Linked DNA regions of Homo sapiens: region 2 is linked to region 1. The links are contacts of gene promoters, found by promoter capture Hi-C in human tissues and cell types (Jung and others, 2019). All regions are on one chromosome and are shown on one strand. The core of a region is centred on a gene start or on the middle of the fragment in contact, and the rest is flanking DNA. Distances in the headings are between cores, read along the strand shown.

Region 1 (7,701 bases), core at 1,921-4,420:
ATTCTCCTGCCTCAGCCTCCCGAGTAGCTGGGATTACAGGCGTGCACTACCATGCCCAGCTACTTTTTGTATTTTTAGTAGAGATGGGGTTTTGCCATGTTGGCCAGGCTGGTCTCGAACTCCTGACCTCAGGTGATCCACCCGCCTTGGCTTCCCAAAGTGCTGGGATTACAGATGTGAGCCACCATGCCCAGCCTGAATTGGTATAATTAAAACATAACTAATAGTAAAATACAAAGACAAAACATAAAGATCACTGATCACTGAAAGATGTAAGTGGTTTTATCACTAAATGATGTGTGAACCTGGACAAGTTATCTAGTTTCTCTGATTTTACCAGAGTGTTAAAAACTTCCTTTCTGAAGTCAATATACATTGCTATATATTTAATATATACTACTATATATTTAAACATATTCTTCTAATTCTAAAGTATTTTGGTTTTTATAGTAGTAACCAAACTATAATTGTTCAAATATAATACTAACAGGAGTTCAGTAATAGAAAATGCTATATGCAAGAGGACATTAGGAAATATAATAAGAATTCCTGATATCTTGAGGAAGTATTTAAGTAAAATATTTACTTGTGTAAAAAAATTACAGTCAGAGGTATAAACTTCTGCAATTAAAAAAAATCACATTTATTAATGAGAACATTTTTAAAAGATGATGGAATATTCTGAAGTTTTAAAACAGCTTTGCTAAGGGTCATTTCTGTGTGTCACTTTATTTCTTTTTATATAGCTATAGTATATTTAAACAATAATGCTGTCTTTTATAAGGGTTTGTCTATTTACCTATTCTTTACTCAGACATTGATGTAGACCTTGTCAGATTATTCTGAGTATTGTTAACAGTGCCTTTTTGATGGAATTCACACTTTTTGGCTGTCAACTTGTGCCATATACACACAAAATTTTGTGGAAGGCAGTTTTAATTTTTTGAAGAACATCTGTCAAAATTTAAGAAAACAAATGTATAAAATTCCATTTTTTCCAGTGTTTAGCATTTCTAGTAAGCAGTGAGGTTTTTTGTTTGACATACAGTGATGATGGCATTATTGACAAGCTATACATGAGACTGCAGATTATACTGAATCATGTTAAATGTACAGAAATAAAATATTAGATTTATATCAAACTTTCGCATTTGAACCAGTGGGGAAAACCCCACAGAAATCAGTAAGTTAACATTTCAATGTCTTTCTTATTTGACTAAGTGGAAAGAGAGTCTTTAAAATGTATAACCTGCCATTATGTAATTTGGTTTCATTTTATTCTACCTGTTGTGTGAGTTTAGTATATTTAATTTACTTTGTGTTACTCTACATACTGTTTATTTTTGTTACAGTTTTTAATTGAAGATGGACTCTGAAAGTGGTATAGGACCAGTGTCTTATTAATATCATTAATATATTAAGAGGAGCCACACAAAACCCATGACAAAATGAATGGAAATATTCTTTCTAAAAATTTAGAAAATTTTATACTTTTGCATTTATTATGTAAAATTATTTGTTTTACAATATCAAAATTTTTCGTTTAAAGAAAAAAATGCCATGAAACATTTGAACTGATGAGCCACAGAACTTCAGTTGAAATTTTTTTCACTTTTTAGCATGCTAAATATACATCTCAGTTTAAATATTCTGTTTAATGGCCATTTATAAATTCAAGCACTACCACTGGTCAGTTTTGTGTGATAGAATAAAAATATGTTACCTGCAGTGTAAGTATAGCACACTGTCAAATTCTTTTCCTTAAGGTGCACAGTAAATGTACAGATAGTTATAGGCCACTGTTTTTGCAATGTAGTACATTTCTAATCTATTATTCCTAACCTATTATAACTGTTTGCAGAGAGAAAATAATTGAATTTTTCTAATAATCTGTAAAATTATGCTAACTTCTACAAGTAGGCTTCTAAATAAAAATTTTAAAAAGAGCAAAAAAAAAAAAAAAGAAAGAAAAAACAGCTTTGCTTGGTCAGCACTTTGAGAGGCTGAGGCAGGTGGCTCATCTCAGGTCAGGAGTTCGATACCAGACTGGGCAACATGGTGAAACCCCTTCTCCACTAAAAATTAGCTGGGTGTTGTGGCAGGCACCTGTAATTCCAGCTACTGGGGAGGCTGAGGCAGGTGAATCGCTTGAACCGGGAAGGCAGAGGTTGCAGTGAGCCGAGATAGCACCACTGCGCTCCAGCCTGGGTGACAGAGTGAGCTCCCGTCTCAAAACAAACAAACAAACAAACAAACAAACAAACCCCCGCACACACACACAATCCCCCCCTCCAGAAAAAGCAGCTTTGCTTAAATGTAACATTTTCAAGATTCAAGAACACATTCATTCTCTCTCTCTTTTTTTTTTTTTTTGAGAGGCAGTCTCGCCCTGTCCCGGGTTCAAGTGATTCTCCTGCCTCAGCCTCCTGAGTAGCTGGGATTACAGGCATCTGCCACCACGCCTGGCTAATTTTTGTATTTTTAGTAGAGACGGGATTTCACCAGGCCAGGCTGGTCTCACATTCTTAACTATTATACCATTTCAATTGGTAATCTTACCGTTCAACTACTATAATACAAATAATTTTTTTAAACTTCTAATTTTTGGAGGACCCTTATAACTGATTTCTAATACCTAAAAATAATAAAAAGCCCAAATGTCCACTCCTGGGTGAACTGCTGGGCACTATTGTATGTTAATAAACTAGGATATTATATTTTTATTAGTAGTAACAATTATTAAGATTGAGAGTCTTAAGAAAGGCTATTGGAAATAATAGGTAAAAATGTAGAACTCAGAATATGAGAAATAGAATGTAAATGATATAATTGTGTAAAAAATGCCTAGTTTAGAATACTGAAGTTTGTTTTGTTTCATTTTATTTAACTTTTAAAACTTAGATCTTTTGTTTAATTTTTATTTTTTGGATGGTTAAGTACATGAAAGAAGAAAAACTTGGTTAATTTTGCCTGATTATTTTAAACATTGGAAGCAAAATACAAGATTTGTATTTCATACTACAGGACCGCTTCCATCATCCATCTGGAGAGACAGAGAGAGAGAGGGAGAGAGAGAGAGAAGCGCGGCGGTGATAAGTCTCCCAGTGTGAGAGAAATCGGGGAGGGGCGAAGAAGGGTAGGCCTCTTCTGTTCCATTGATACCACGTTCATTCACAGGGAGCCGGCTAAAACAGACTACTCCCCCGTGCAGTCGTTCCCTCTACCCTAATAAGGCTTTGGCGCCTCTCCCAGAACTCGGTAAGTTCAAAGTGTAGTAAAGTGCATGTTTCCAAGGAATCATCTGAAATGATTTTGTAGATAGTTTATTGCAGGTTGGAGAAGGGAGAAAATGAAGGAAGGGGTAGAGGGGGCAATTATCACGCATCGTTTTGCTATCGTATTTGCAAGGGGAAGAAAATCTCAATGCATACATGGTTCGAAAGTGATTATTTAGACAGTAAGCAGTTTCCCCAGGAAAGCTCCTCAGAGGGTCTCCTCGCAGGCTGCAGATTCTAGAAAGTCTGCGGAAGAGTAGTTCGCAGGTGCATGTGTCTGGGCGAAGCGCTGCGTGTGGCTCAGTTGGTGGCAGTCTCTGCCTCTGTCCGCAGGTCCTGGGGAATGCTCTTTGCCTGGTCCAGCCCCGACAAACGTGGTCTGAGAACAGCGGAGCGCGGAAACCGCGGAGCATGACTCCTCCGAAGCTGCGAGCGTCGCTGTCGCCGTCGCTGCTGCTGCTGCTGAGTGGTTGCCTCCTCGCGGCTGCTCGGAGGGAGAAAGGGGCGGCTAGCAACGTGGCGGAGCCGGTCCCCGGGCCCACTGGCGGCTCCTCGGGTCGCTTCCTCAGCCCCGAGCAGCACGCGTGCAGCTGGCAGCTCCTGCTGCCCGCCCCGGAGGCCGCAGCGGGCAGCGAGCTGGCGCTGCGCTGCCAGAGCCCGGACGGGGCGCGCCACCAGTGCGCCTACCGCGGGCATCCGGAGCGCTGCGCAGCCTACGCCGCTCGCCGCGCGCACTTCTGGAAGCAGGTGCTGGGAGGGCTGCGCAAGAAGCGGAGGCCCTGTCACGACCCCGCGCCGCTCCAGGCCCGCTTGTGCGCGGGCAAGAAGGGCCACGGCGCCGAGCTGCGGCTAGTGCCCCGCGCGTCCCCGCCCGCACGCCCCACCGTCGCGGGATTCGCGGGGGAGTCCAAGCCCCGGGCCCGGAACCGGGGGCGGACCCGGGAGCGTGCGTCCGGCCCAGCCGCTGGGACCCCGCCTCCCCAAAGCGCACCGCCCAAAGAAAACCCCTCAGAGAGGAAGACCAACGAGGGCAAGAGGAAGGCGGCCTTGGTCCCCAACGAGGAGCGACCCATGGGGACCGGGCCCGACCCCGACGGGCTGGACGGGAACGCGGAGCTCACGGAGACCTACTGCGCTGAGAAGTGGCACTCCCTCTGCAACTTCTTTGTCAATTTCTGGAACGGCTGAGACTGCCTGCCGGCTTAGGGAGGGTTGATGGGGGAGGCGTGGGGAAGGGAAAGCTAAGGGCGTCTTAGACCGGGGGGTACTGTGATAGAGATTGGGGAGAAGTCCAGGTTCTCGAATGGGGGTGGGGGCAAGGGTAAGGGTGAGATGCTTGGGATGAGAGTGTAAGGGGTATGGAGAATCTCTGGGATAGCAGAGAAGTTAAAAATTTTGAAAAGTCTCAGTCCTGATTAAGAGCAGGAAAAATAATGGAAACAGAAATAGGCGTACTTTAAATGTGCAAAAACTGGAGACTGGGGAGAGAAATCGATGCAGAGGGAGGCTGAGAATAAGGGGGAGATAGAGTGACTAAAGTGATGTGAGTCCCATGTGGGGAGGGGGATGCAATGTTTATTGTTTAACATTTCTATTAAATGCAGCCATGAGCAATTGCCAACCTGAGCCAGGTTGAATCAATGTCTTCTCACTTAATCAGCTAACAAGACTGCAGACTTTTTTTCCGTTTCTGAATTGGTATAAACTTGGATGCGGCGTGGTGGGTGTCATAGATAACCTCTATAGGGACAGAAGCCTCACAGGTCAAAACTGGCTCCAAGGAAAGTTTTGCAGAATGATTTCCTTTCCATTCTTTTAGAAGAGCTACCTTTTTTTTTTTTTTTCCCTGACAGGGTCTGGCTTGCCCAGGCTGGAGTGCGGTGGCTAGTCACAGGTGTAATAATAGGCACTGCAGTCTCCAACTCCTGGCCTCAAGGGATCCTCACATCTTAGCCTCCAGAATAGCTAGGAGTAGGAGTAGCTGGGACTACAAGCATGCACAGCTGCACTTGGCTTAGAAGTGCTACTTTATTTTTATTTTTGAGACAGGGTCTTGTGTCATCCAGACTGGAGCAGTGGTGCAATTATGGCTCACTGCGGCCTCGACATTCCAGTCTCAAGTGATCCTCTGCCTCAGCCTCCGGAGTAGCCAGGACTACAGGGGTGTGCCACTAGAAGTGCTACTTTTTAACGAAATGGTGACTAATGTTCTGGAACTTTCCCATTAACCTTCTGCATTTAGAAGGAATTATAGATGTTGAGTGCTCCAGTAAACAGTGATTCTCTTTATATCTGATTTTTTTTTTTAAACAGCTAAAATGTAAGTATGTATCTCAGAGTCATTTTGACCATTATGGAAGTTGTATCTCTCTGTTTCATGTAACTAATTATTAATATATTTCATTTTTAGTGTGATGTAATGAGAGACTGTGTGTGTATGTTAGGTGCTCAATAAAAACTGTATGGTTAGATTTAAAGAAGTGGCAAGGCAATGGAAATTCTACCTGCATTTGATCTACTTCCAAGTACACCTTGAATTAAGTTCTTAAACACATCTTGAATTGCTGGGAAAAGACAGAAACTAAGAAGTTGACATAAAGCAAGAGTCACAAACTGGCAGCCACCTGGCCTTATCATTGTTCTATTTGATTTGCACCCTGGTTCTCTTTCTTTTTCCCTTCCTCCCCACCTTCCTCCCATCCATTGTTGAATCTGTGGATGCAGAGCCCACGGATGTGGAGGGGCAACTATATATATGTTTTTCCATTATATATATAAATGTGTGTGTGTGTATATATGTGTGTGTGTGTTGCAACCACTTATTTGGGAACTTGAAGTTAAATCCTCATGGTCATTCCCTTAACAAGGTGAGATCGCTTTATTCTGAATATTTTGGTCCTCCATTTGAAGCATACCATTGCATACTATATTAAAACAACAACTTCATAGTCCTTGCACCCTAAACACCTATGATCTCAACACAAAATTTGTTCATAATCAGTTAAATTCTAATTCTTCAAATAAGAGTAAATCATTACTTTATTATTCTCAACTCTACAAGTTACATATGGTGGCAGACTATAAGTATATAATATAGTTACTTACATGATCCCTACCTCCTGGTATTCTCACCTCTGTGTATTCCCCTTTCTTTGATTATGCGCAGGGCCTGTGAATTGCTTGTAAGCATGGTGGGTACACTATCATCTGAAAGATGTATCTTAGTTTTCCACATTCTGCTGATTGAAAGAAAACCCTGGGTAAGTTCCAATCTTGCTATTCAACAGGACAAGGTTCAAGGCCAAAACAAGAGTCCCAGAAAAGGTCAAGCTAGAAGCAGCAGGGAGTCAGGCCAACCTGAGTAGAAATGAACAATGGAGGCTCTAGGGAAGAATCAATTTCCTTGCCCTTTCCAGCTTCTAGAGCTGTCCACATTCCTTGGCCCTTGGTTTTCTTCCATCTTCGAAGCCAACTATCATCTCATTCCAACCTCTGTTTTTTTTTTTTTTTTTTTGAGACGGAGTTTTGCTCAGTCGCCCAGGCTGGAGTACAGTGGCGCGATCTCGGCTCACTGCAAGCTCCACCTCCCGGGTTCATGCCATTCTCCTGTTTCAGCCTCCCGAGTAGCTGGGACTACAGGCACCCGCCACCACGCCCGGCTAATTTTTTGTATTTTTTTTTTTTTTAGTAGAGACAAGGTTTCACCATGTTAGCCAGGATGGTCTCGATCTCCTGACCTCGTGATCCGCCCGCCTTGGCCTCCCAAAGTGCTGGGATTACAGGCGTCAGCCACCGCGCCCGGCTCCAACCTCTGCTTTTATCATCACATCTCCTTCTCTGACTCCCTCTTTCTTGCCTCGCTCTTTTTTTTACTTAAAAAGACGCTTACAAATACACGGGGCCCATTCAAATAATCCAGGATAATTTTTCAATCTCAAGATCAGTTGGTTAGCCGACTTAATTCTATCTGTAACCTTAATTTCCCATTGAAATCTAATGCAATTTATCCCAATATATTCACAGGTTCTGGGGATTAAGATGTCAACACGGGGCAGGGGTGGGAGAAGTGGGGGCGGCGGGGGGGAAGTGGGAGCATTATTCTGCTTACCACAAGTGGCTACATCCAACAACGTAAACTCCAAAACAAAGGAAAAGGATAAAGAGGGACATTATATAACGAGAGAAGGATCAACTCACAAAAAAGACAACAATCCTAAATGTGAGTGTACCTAACAGTGCAACAAAATACATGAAGCAAAAACCAATAGAATCGAAAGGAGGAATAGATAAATTCGCTATTTTATGTGGAGACTTCAACGTTTCTCTTTCAGTAATAAATAGAAAAAGAAGATAGAAAATCGGTAAGAATATAAAAGACCTGAACAATACTATCAACAAACTTGACCTAATTGACCTTTCTGGAATA
Region 2 (7,701 bases), core at 3,683-6,182, 420 kb after region 1:
ATATTTATCTAAATAGTCTTTATTAGACTATATCTTTTTTTGGTAACAATGAAAACTATTGTGCAGATTAAAGATAAACATTTCAGACATTTTAAATACATGCAGCAATTTGCTTTAATAGATAAAATTTTAGTATCACAAATCTACAATTTAAGGCTACTTACAATTTTGAAGATTACTATAATAAAACACTAATTTGGAGCTTTCTCCATTTCTCCTATATACAACGCTAAATGCTATTAACAGCCTTTTATTTCTGTGTCCTCACTTATCAAGGAAGTCTGCATTCCTAGCATAGTGTCCTGTGTTACAGACCGTTTTTTCCTACCTTTTCCTATCTTCTGTTCCCAGTCTAGCTCTTGGGCAGCTGTCACATTGGAAATAACTAATAAACAAATTTATGCTAGGATGCTAATGGCAAACAAGATTAGTAGCTACTCCTCCCATCAGGAATTCATATTTACTGGAAAATGCTCCAAATGAAAAAATAACCCAACAATGATACAATTCTTGACACTGTGACTGAGGAACTTATTTTAGGTTAGGAAACCAATTTTGTATATTTAGATTGTACCATATAAGCTCTTGCTTACACTGACTATTTGTAAGATTGTCCTTGTGTCAAAATAGTCATCAGTCATTAATTCCAAGTGATATGGCAATTTATGAGATAAAATGTTGGGAAACACCCATAAAAAACTGATAATGCCACTTAGCTCTCAATGTCAAGTGTCTACTCATTCGTTTGCATGCTCTGTAGAAAACTTAGCCTGTCACAGAGTCTACACCTGCCATTCTCCTTCTTTAAAGTAGAAGAAAAATTCCACAAAAAGATATTTGATATCCTGTGAGTGACACAGAAAAAACTGTTTAGTCTTGCTAGTTTAACACAAACTAGCTCATTCTGTTACGTACAAAAGCACTGTAGATTTTCTTACAAATATAAAAAAATCATAGACCAAGGTGAAAAAATACTAAAAAGGCACATGACATTGTACGAGTACAACTAACAGAAAATGTCAGAATGAGTAGCTATACAGCTAATCATTGAGCCAATATCTACCCAAGATCAAGTAACAATTCTGGTGCTGAATATACCTGTTTAAACTCATTCTTCAGGGGGGTAGTGTGGCTTTGGAATTCCCTTGATGGGCATAGGCAATAAAATTTCTTCTAATATTCCCATATTCAGTATAAGATGACTTTGGGATGTCACCAGTTACTCAAATCTTTTGTCCTTCTCTGTGATAGAAAGAAATACTCACCTTCTGGGAACTGAATTACTGAAGAATAAACATTCTTATTTTTTATAGCATTTTGAAGTATTACAATTTATGCTTTAGGATTCTTTTTATACTCTTGAACAAGATGGAAATCATTTCTTTTTACTCTATATTCCTTTTTCAATTAAGAAGACCACAGCCAAGCTTCCCTCTTTTAAAATTGTGAGCAATCATGTAACACAAGCAGATGTTTGAAATACATAAGCACTTAAACAAATAGTTTAGAGCTCTAACAGAAAAACCTCACTGAATCTGATATTTATTAGATAAAGTACATTACTGTGCTGAGCTGAAACACAAGGGATAGGAAGTGGTAAGGACAGACTGAGAGATAACTTCATACTGCTCTACAATTTGCCTAAACTCAGTCTGCTTGCTATCCCCAGCCTCTTTGGGTCTCCATGCATTTTGGTTTCCTAAGAACCAATAAAACATCTTTCACCTTCTTTGGGCATATTTCTCAGTTCTCCAAGACACACTTTTTGTTACATTTTCTAATTTTTCGGTTGTTTCTGATTTTCATAAAACCTAGAAAATGTTTCAGTAGTTTGAGTGGTTTGCCTAATGACACTCTGCCTCACCGCAGTTCTCAATGCTCTGCTGGTTATCTAAGGTTGGTGGTATGGTATCTGCAAAACGAGGTCCAACAAGCTCTCAGTAATTTGAATCTGTGAGAAGCATTTACTCTTCCTACTATATTTATAATATAATGAGAAGTTGATCAGAAGAGATGAGAGTTATCTTGTCTCCCAAATTGTAAATAGTTTTTAAGCACTTTTTGGGTGAGTATAACACGAATTTTGCTTTTAACATTCCTGATTATGCTAGAACAATTCACAAGACATTTAAATTATTTATTAAATTATTTACTATACTGATTATAGTCAGCATAAATATGTTTTTATAGCTGACTTACCCTTGCGATGTTTATCATCTGTTGCTCTGAGTCTCTCTGAATAATGATTTTTTTTGCAGCTACAGAAATAACGAATGGGTACTGACAGAAGGAAAACCTGCTCAACAAGTGAAAAAAAGAAAAAGCAAAATGGTGTATTTTTAACAAAATTATACTAAGGGAATCTAAGGTACCCCTTGTAGCAATATAAAACATTACTTTTGGATTGTGTTTTACCATATACAAAATGATTGTATGTGTATAATTTCTTTTAATTCTCACAGCCATGTGAAGAATGTATCATTACTAGATGTGCAATGCCTTTATTCTCTGCAGAAGCTACATCAAAGGTTCTGAATGTGTGCTAACCACTTACATTGTCTATACAAATAATTTCATTGTATATCATCACCTGTGAACAACATGGCCAATACCAGAACCAGGAGGGAGAAGTGTTGGTTAAGTAGTACAGAAAACCCAGGTGCTCAAAATTAATATAAGAATCCATCATTATATGGTGACTTCTGATGTGTGAGTTCCAGAAATGAAAAAATCTAACAATAACTACAGTATGTAAAAAGTAAAGTAATATATTTAAGACCAATAAAAATAAATCAGAAATGTATGTTACATTTAGTATTATATTTAATGGTGTGGTAATAGGAAATGGTATGTATTTGTAATTACACATTATAAAAAGGTTATGAAAATAACCCCTCCTGGGCTAGAACATTCTATGCTATGCACAAAAGCCACAAACTACACAGAGATAAATGCATTTAGAAAGAATGAATATGGCAGCAATGACACTTCTGGAGTTAGATTGCCATTCAAAGTGACTACAGTGAATCTATCAGTTACAGCTGGAATCCCTCTGAGCATAGTCAGGTGGTACAACTGTGACCACTGAGAAAAAAGGCATTATTAGGAAAATGGATATAGCCTTAGTGTAAACTGAAAGTGAGATGGCTTTTACCATGGGACAAAATTGTTAATAAAAGTTGAGAGTTCTTCAGTACTGGTATATAATTATTTTGAATCATTAATGCTAACAAAAAATTGGAAATAAAAAGAAAATGCAATGAACTCAGTAAGATATATATTAGTTTTACTATGTACTTTAGGACAGGGGTTCTCAACCTTTCCCTTGTTATGCACAAGAGAAATGATACTTTGTGAATGATACACTGAAATGAACAGATGAAGCTGCTCATGGCCAGAGATCACTTGCCATAGGGCTCCTGTTCCCCTCTAGGTTCAGGCTGGCTACCCAAGGGTTGACAGGATCCTAGGATTAAAACCCTAATGTAACTCATTCTTGGTACACCAGTGTTGTGGCACAGTTGTTAGAGGAAGCTCTATATTAAAAGATGTTGTTGTCAGTGAAATATGCATAATAATTCTTGGCGCTGTTTTGTGGTTGTATCTACAACACATTACAATTATATTAAAATGGAAGGAAAAAGTATCTTTGTAAAGTAAACATTGCCAAGAAAATATCCATCTGGGACTAGGGTGCCCAGAACTTAAATTCTTATTCTTATTCAGTTCTGAGTGTTCAGATGTGAAATGAGATGTGTCCAGAAGCCCATTCTATGTTTCAGGCCAATTCTGATAAAGAGGGTCCCTGGAAAGTTTAACCAATTTACAAACTAATCTGGGGTTTTGAGGTTACTTATATCCACACTGTATCTCTTTACTCAGATTCCTCTACAATTAAATGCAATCTCCTGAACATCTCATGACCTGAGGATAAATTATGTTTGGAATAGTCTTGCTAGTTTAATCCAAACTAGAAGTGTGGATATAAAGTGCAGTGTATTAAATAATTTGGTGACTGTTTTACAAATCTATTAATTATTATAATAAATAAGCTGTGGTAAGGCCCTTTCTCTGTAACATCTACTCTTTTTATATTGCACCTAATGGACAACCACTTTTTCTTACAAAAGAAATGAGAAATGAATGTATGTGTGTGTCTGTGTGTGATCAATATATTAGATCATGCATCTGCAAACCATGGGCCTAAGACAAATATGGCCTACAACCTGTTTTTGTAAATAAAGTCATTTGGGACACAGACATATCTATTCATTTACATCCTGTCTAAGGCTACTTTTGTGCTAAAATAGCAAAATAGAACCTGTGTAACCTATAGTGTTGAAAATATTCACCATCTAGTTCTTTACAGAAAAAGTTTTGCTGACCCCTGTGCATAGAATAGTAAGAGATAAGAGACTGCATATTAAGATAGAACCTCTCCCTTCTTGAAAAGATGCTATTAACCAAACCAAAACCAAATTAACATGTACATAAATTCAAAATGTAGCAGAAAAAGAAAATACTTTAATAAATATGATATTTCAAGGCTATCTGAACTATATTTATACATTTATATGTAAACGTATGTGTAAACTTCATATAAACTTAAACTCTAGTCATTCTTTTGAATAGTATTTCATTTAGGTGGATAATCAAAGGAACTTTTGTTCATACCTGTGAGAGTTTCCAAAGTTTTGCCAAGTATGATATTCTTCCATGAGATCAATGTGATCCAATGTAGAATTATAGAAATCAGTATAAGGAATAAGGGGAGGGTGAACTAAATTGTTTGCAGTATCTGTAAAGATAAATTCTAACATAAAGACTTTTTCCAACATGTACAAGATTCATTCTAATAATAAAAACATCATTTTAATGTCTACAAGACAGCCTTGACCTAGAAACTCCTATTTTAAATAAATGTAGCTCCAAATGAAAGGGGTAATTTAAAAATTGTGGTTAAAATGCAGCCAATAGTTTCTTGCTTAAAAAAGAAAACTTGTGGTGAGGATTATAATAGTATTAAAGGGAATATGCAGATGGCCATTTACTCCTATTTCTGTGTGTTCTCTCTTAGGGGTCCTAGCTCATATGCACTTAATTGCCATAATACAGAACACTGTCCACTAAAAGACATAAAGCTTTTTTCATGCTTATAAATTATGAAATCTATTATCAAAGTAGAAAATAAATTACAACTCTTTCCTTCACAGAAATGGTTTAAAATTTAAGAATGCCTCTATAGTCTTTTGAAATCCTTAAGAAATATCCCTAAAATGTAACAAAAGAAAAGTAAAAAATGATAGAATAATAAAAACCTACTAAGTAAAGCCAACACTTTAGCGGCTGATGGAATCCACCAGGAACACTTTGTTATAGGTGGAAATTCTTCAGGCTTTGCAGGAAACAGGCGTAAAGAAATAAATTGCAGCAATCTCTCTACCAATTGTTTGAACCTCTTCTGGGACAATCTGGTAAAGATTTCAAAATAATTGCAATCAAAATTCACATTTTCTATTTCCAAAATTATCTGTTAGATATTAAACTACATCCTAAGCCACAAAATTTTAGACTATTCCCCCAAATTCTATTTCTTAAATTGCCAAACATTTGAAAAGATACAAAATCTTACCTTGAATACTGTCTTCGTTAAATGAGAAATAAACACCAAAATTACTATAAAGTTAGTAACAAACATTTTAAAGACTTTCAATATTCAGTCTTCATTATTCACAGATTCTATATTTCCAAATTTGCCTACTTGGTAAAATTTAATTGTTAATCCCCAAATCAATACTTGTGTTTTCATGGTCATTTGGGGACATGTGAAAGATGTTAGTCTCCTGACATGCACATTTCCAGCTGAGGTCAAAGTGATGTTCTGCCTTGTTTTAGCTCAATACTCTCTCTTTGCAAGTGTCCTTTATGCAATCCATTTAGCTTCATGTTTTTCACATTTTGGTGCTTTTTGTTGGTGATTTTGCAATTTCAAAATGGCCAAGTGTAGTGCTAAAATGCTGTCTAGTGTTCCTAACAAGAAGGTTGTGATGTGCCCTACAGAGAAAATATGTATGTTAGAGAAGCTTCATTCAGGCATGAGTTACAGTGCTGCTAGCCGTGAGTTCAATGATAATGAATCAATGACTTCTATTAAATGAAGTGTGTCTTTAAAAAAAACACTCATAAAGCAAAGTTATATACTGATTGGCTGACAAAAATGTGATCAGAGGCTCACAGGAACCTAACCCTGTATTTCCCCTTGAAGCAATGGTTCTGTATTTATTAATTCCATGTTTGTGGTGACATTATAGAATATAACTACTATGAATAATGATAATTTACTGCATTTAAAATTTCTTTTGGAAATATTTTGCCTTTCTACTTTTATCAGTCATGGAGAAGTCATTGTTCATGTGGGTATAGTTCTGTGAAAAAAGTATTATGCTTTTACAAATTGATATTGATGGCTAGCCTATATTTTACAATGACATTTTTAGGTAAGGAGAAAGCGCCATTTAAATAATGGTGAAATTTATGAATTTACAGATAGAAAATAAAAAGACACACATTAAAATAGTAGTGTCTGAGCAAATCCAGTCACCATCTTTGAGATACGTAAAAAACCAATAATAGGAATGTGCTATATAAAAAGTGAAGGCAGTAGACAGAAATTCTCAACAGCTTGTGCAAACAAATTGGTTACTTACATTAAAAACAGATTTTTAATTATCCTTTATGTAGTACTAAAGTAGATTTTTGTAACTGGCTTTTGAAGCATTGTGAATATAAGCATCATTTCTAAAGACCTGAAAATATTTAAATATATTTTATTGTAAAATTACTAATACCAAACTTAAAACTGTGAGACTATAAAAGTTCTTAATATCATAGAATGATTTACTTTTTAAACCAGTGAACTAGGAAATGATGGTCAGCTTCCACTAAGGTAGCTATCTGTCGTAGCAAGTGAGCATAGATGACATACGTAGATGTGTTATTAAACTGAGGATTCTGAAAAAGATATTAAAGATAATTGTGTTAAAATTCTGTTAACACGTAAAAGGAAAGACACTAAGCTTAATAAGTACGTGGTAAATTCAGGAAACAAAATTTGAGATTATAAAATAACAATAACCTATTTGTTATTTAATTAACAGAGACTTTCATTTACACTGCGGCTATACAGTGAAAAGAGCATGGGCTTTGGAGTTAAGACAGATCTGGGTCTGAGGGCTAATTCTACCACTTACTAGCTATATGCCCTTAGGCATGTTCCTTACACTTTGATTCTCAATGTCCTTATCTGTAAAATGGGAATGATATTCTCTATCTTAAGGGTTGTTTTGAGTATCGAAAAAGAAAATGTATATAAAGCACCTTCATAAAAAGTGCCTTCATAAATGGTACCAATCACTATCATCCAATTAAAAGCAAAAAACCTGGGTGTTCCTTGATTAAAAGCTAGAAAAACGAAGTAAAAGCTGGTTGTGAAACTTTTGCCATTGTAAAATGAGTTAGCCTCATATATCACAAAGAACAAGGGGAGAAACACATACAGCTTCTGACAACTTTTAAATGATAAAGGGACGCTGAAGGAATACTTGTAAACTAAGAAAAGCCTTTAGTTAATGTTTCCAAAATATAAAATTCTAGCACAATGTACATTTCAGCACATCATGGAAAAAATAAATATTATTGAAA

Evidence for each region. Contacts are between HindIII fragments. The study calls those that stand out against the background at their distance.
Region 2: a fragment that was not itself captured here is called in contact with the fragment with the promoter of FGFBP3 in region 1 in 1 of the 25 tissues and cell types used here (dorsolateral prefrontal cortex).

Annotation. Positions count from the first base shown.
Region 1 is chr10:91,904,955-91,912,655 of GRCh38, reverse strand. It overlaps FGFBP3 (fibroblast growth factor binding protein 3), which reads left to right and starts at 3,170. Exons shown (of 2, transcript NM_152429.5): 1 at 3,170-3,258; 2 at 3,609-6,072. The coding sequence starts at 3,687. The coding sequence ends at 4,463. FGFBP3-AS1 (FGFBP3 antisense RNA 1) reads right to left here and starts at 4,527. Exons shown (of 2, transcript NR_199602.1): 1 at 4,407-4,527; 2 at 3,308-3,759. RefSeq lists an enhancer at 3,530-3,824 and a silencer at 3,728-4,297. The HindIII fragment of the contact is 15,807 bases long and covers 1-7,701 here.
Region 2 is chr10:91,482,277-91,489,977 of GRCh38, reverse strand. It overlaps HECTD2 (HECT domain E3 ubiquitin protein ligase 2), which reads right to left. Exons shown (of 21, transcript NM_182765.6): 8 at 6,902-7,011; 9 at 5,323-5,471; 10 at 4,675-4,798; 11 at 2,200-2,296. All of the region lies in intron 3 of HECTD2-AS1 (HECTD2 antisense RNA 1), which reads left to right. Among named protein-coding and RNA genes, the nearest start is that of HECTD2, 76 kb to the right of the region's middle. The HindIII fragment of the contact is 3,296 bases long and covers 3,285-6,580 here.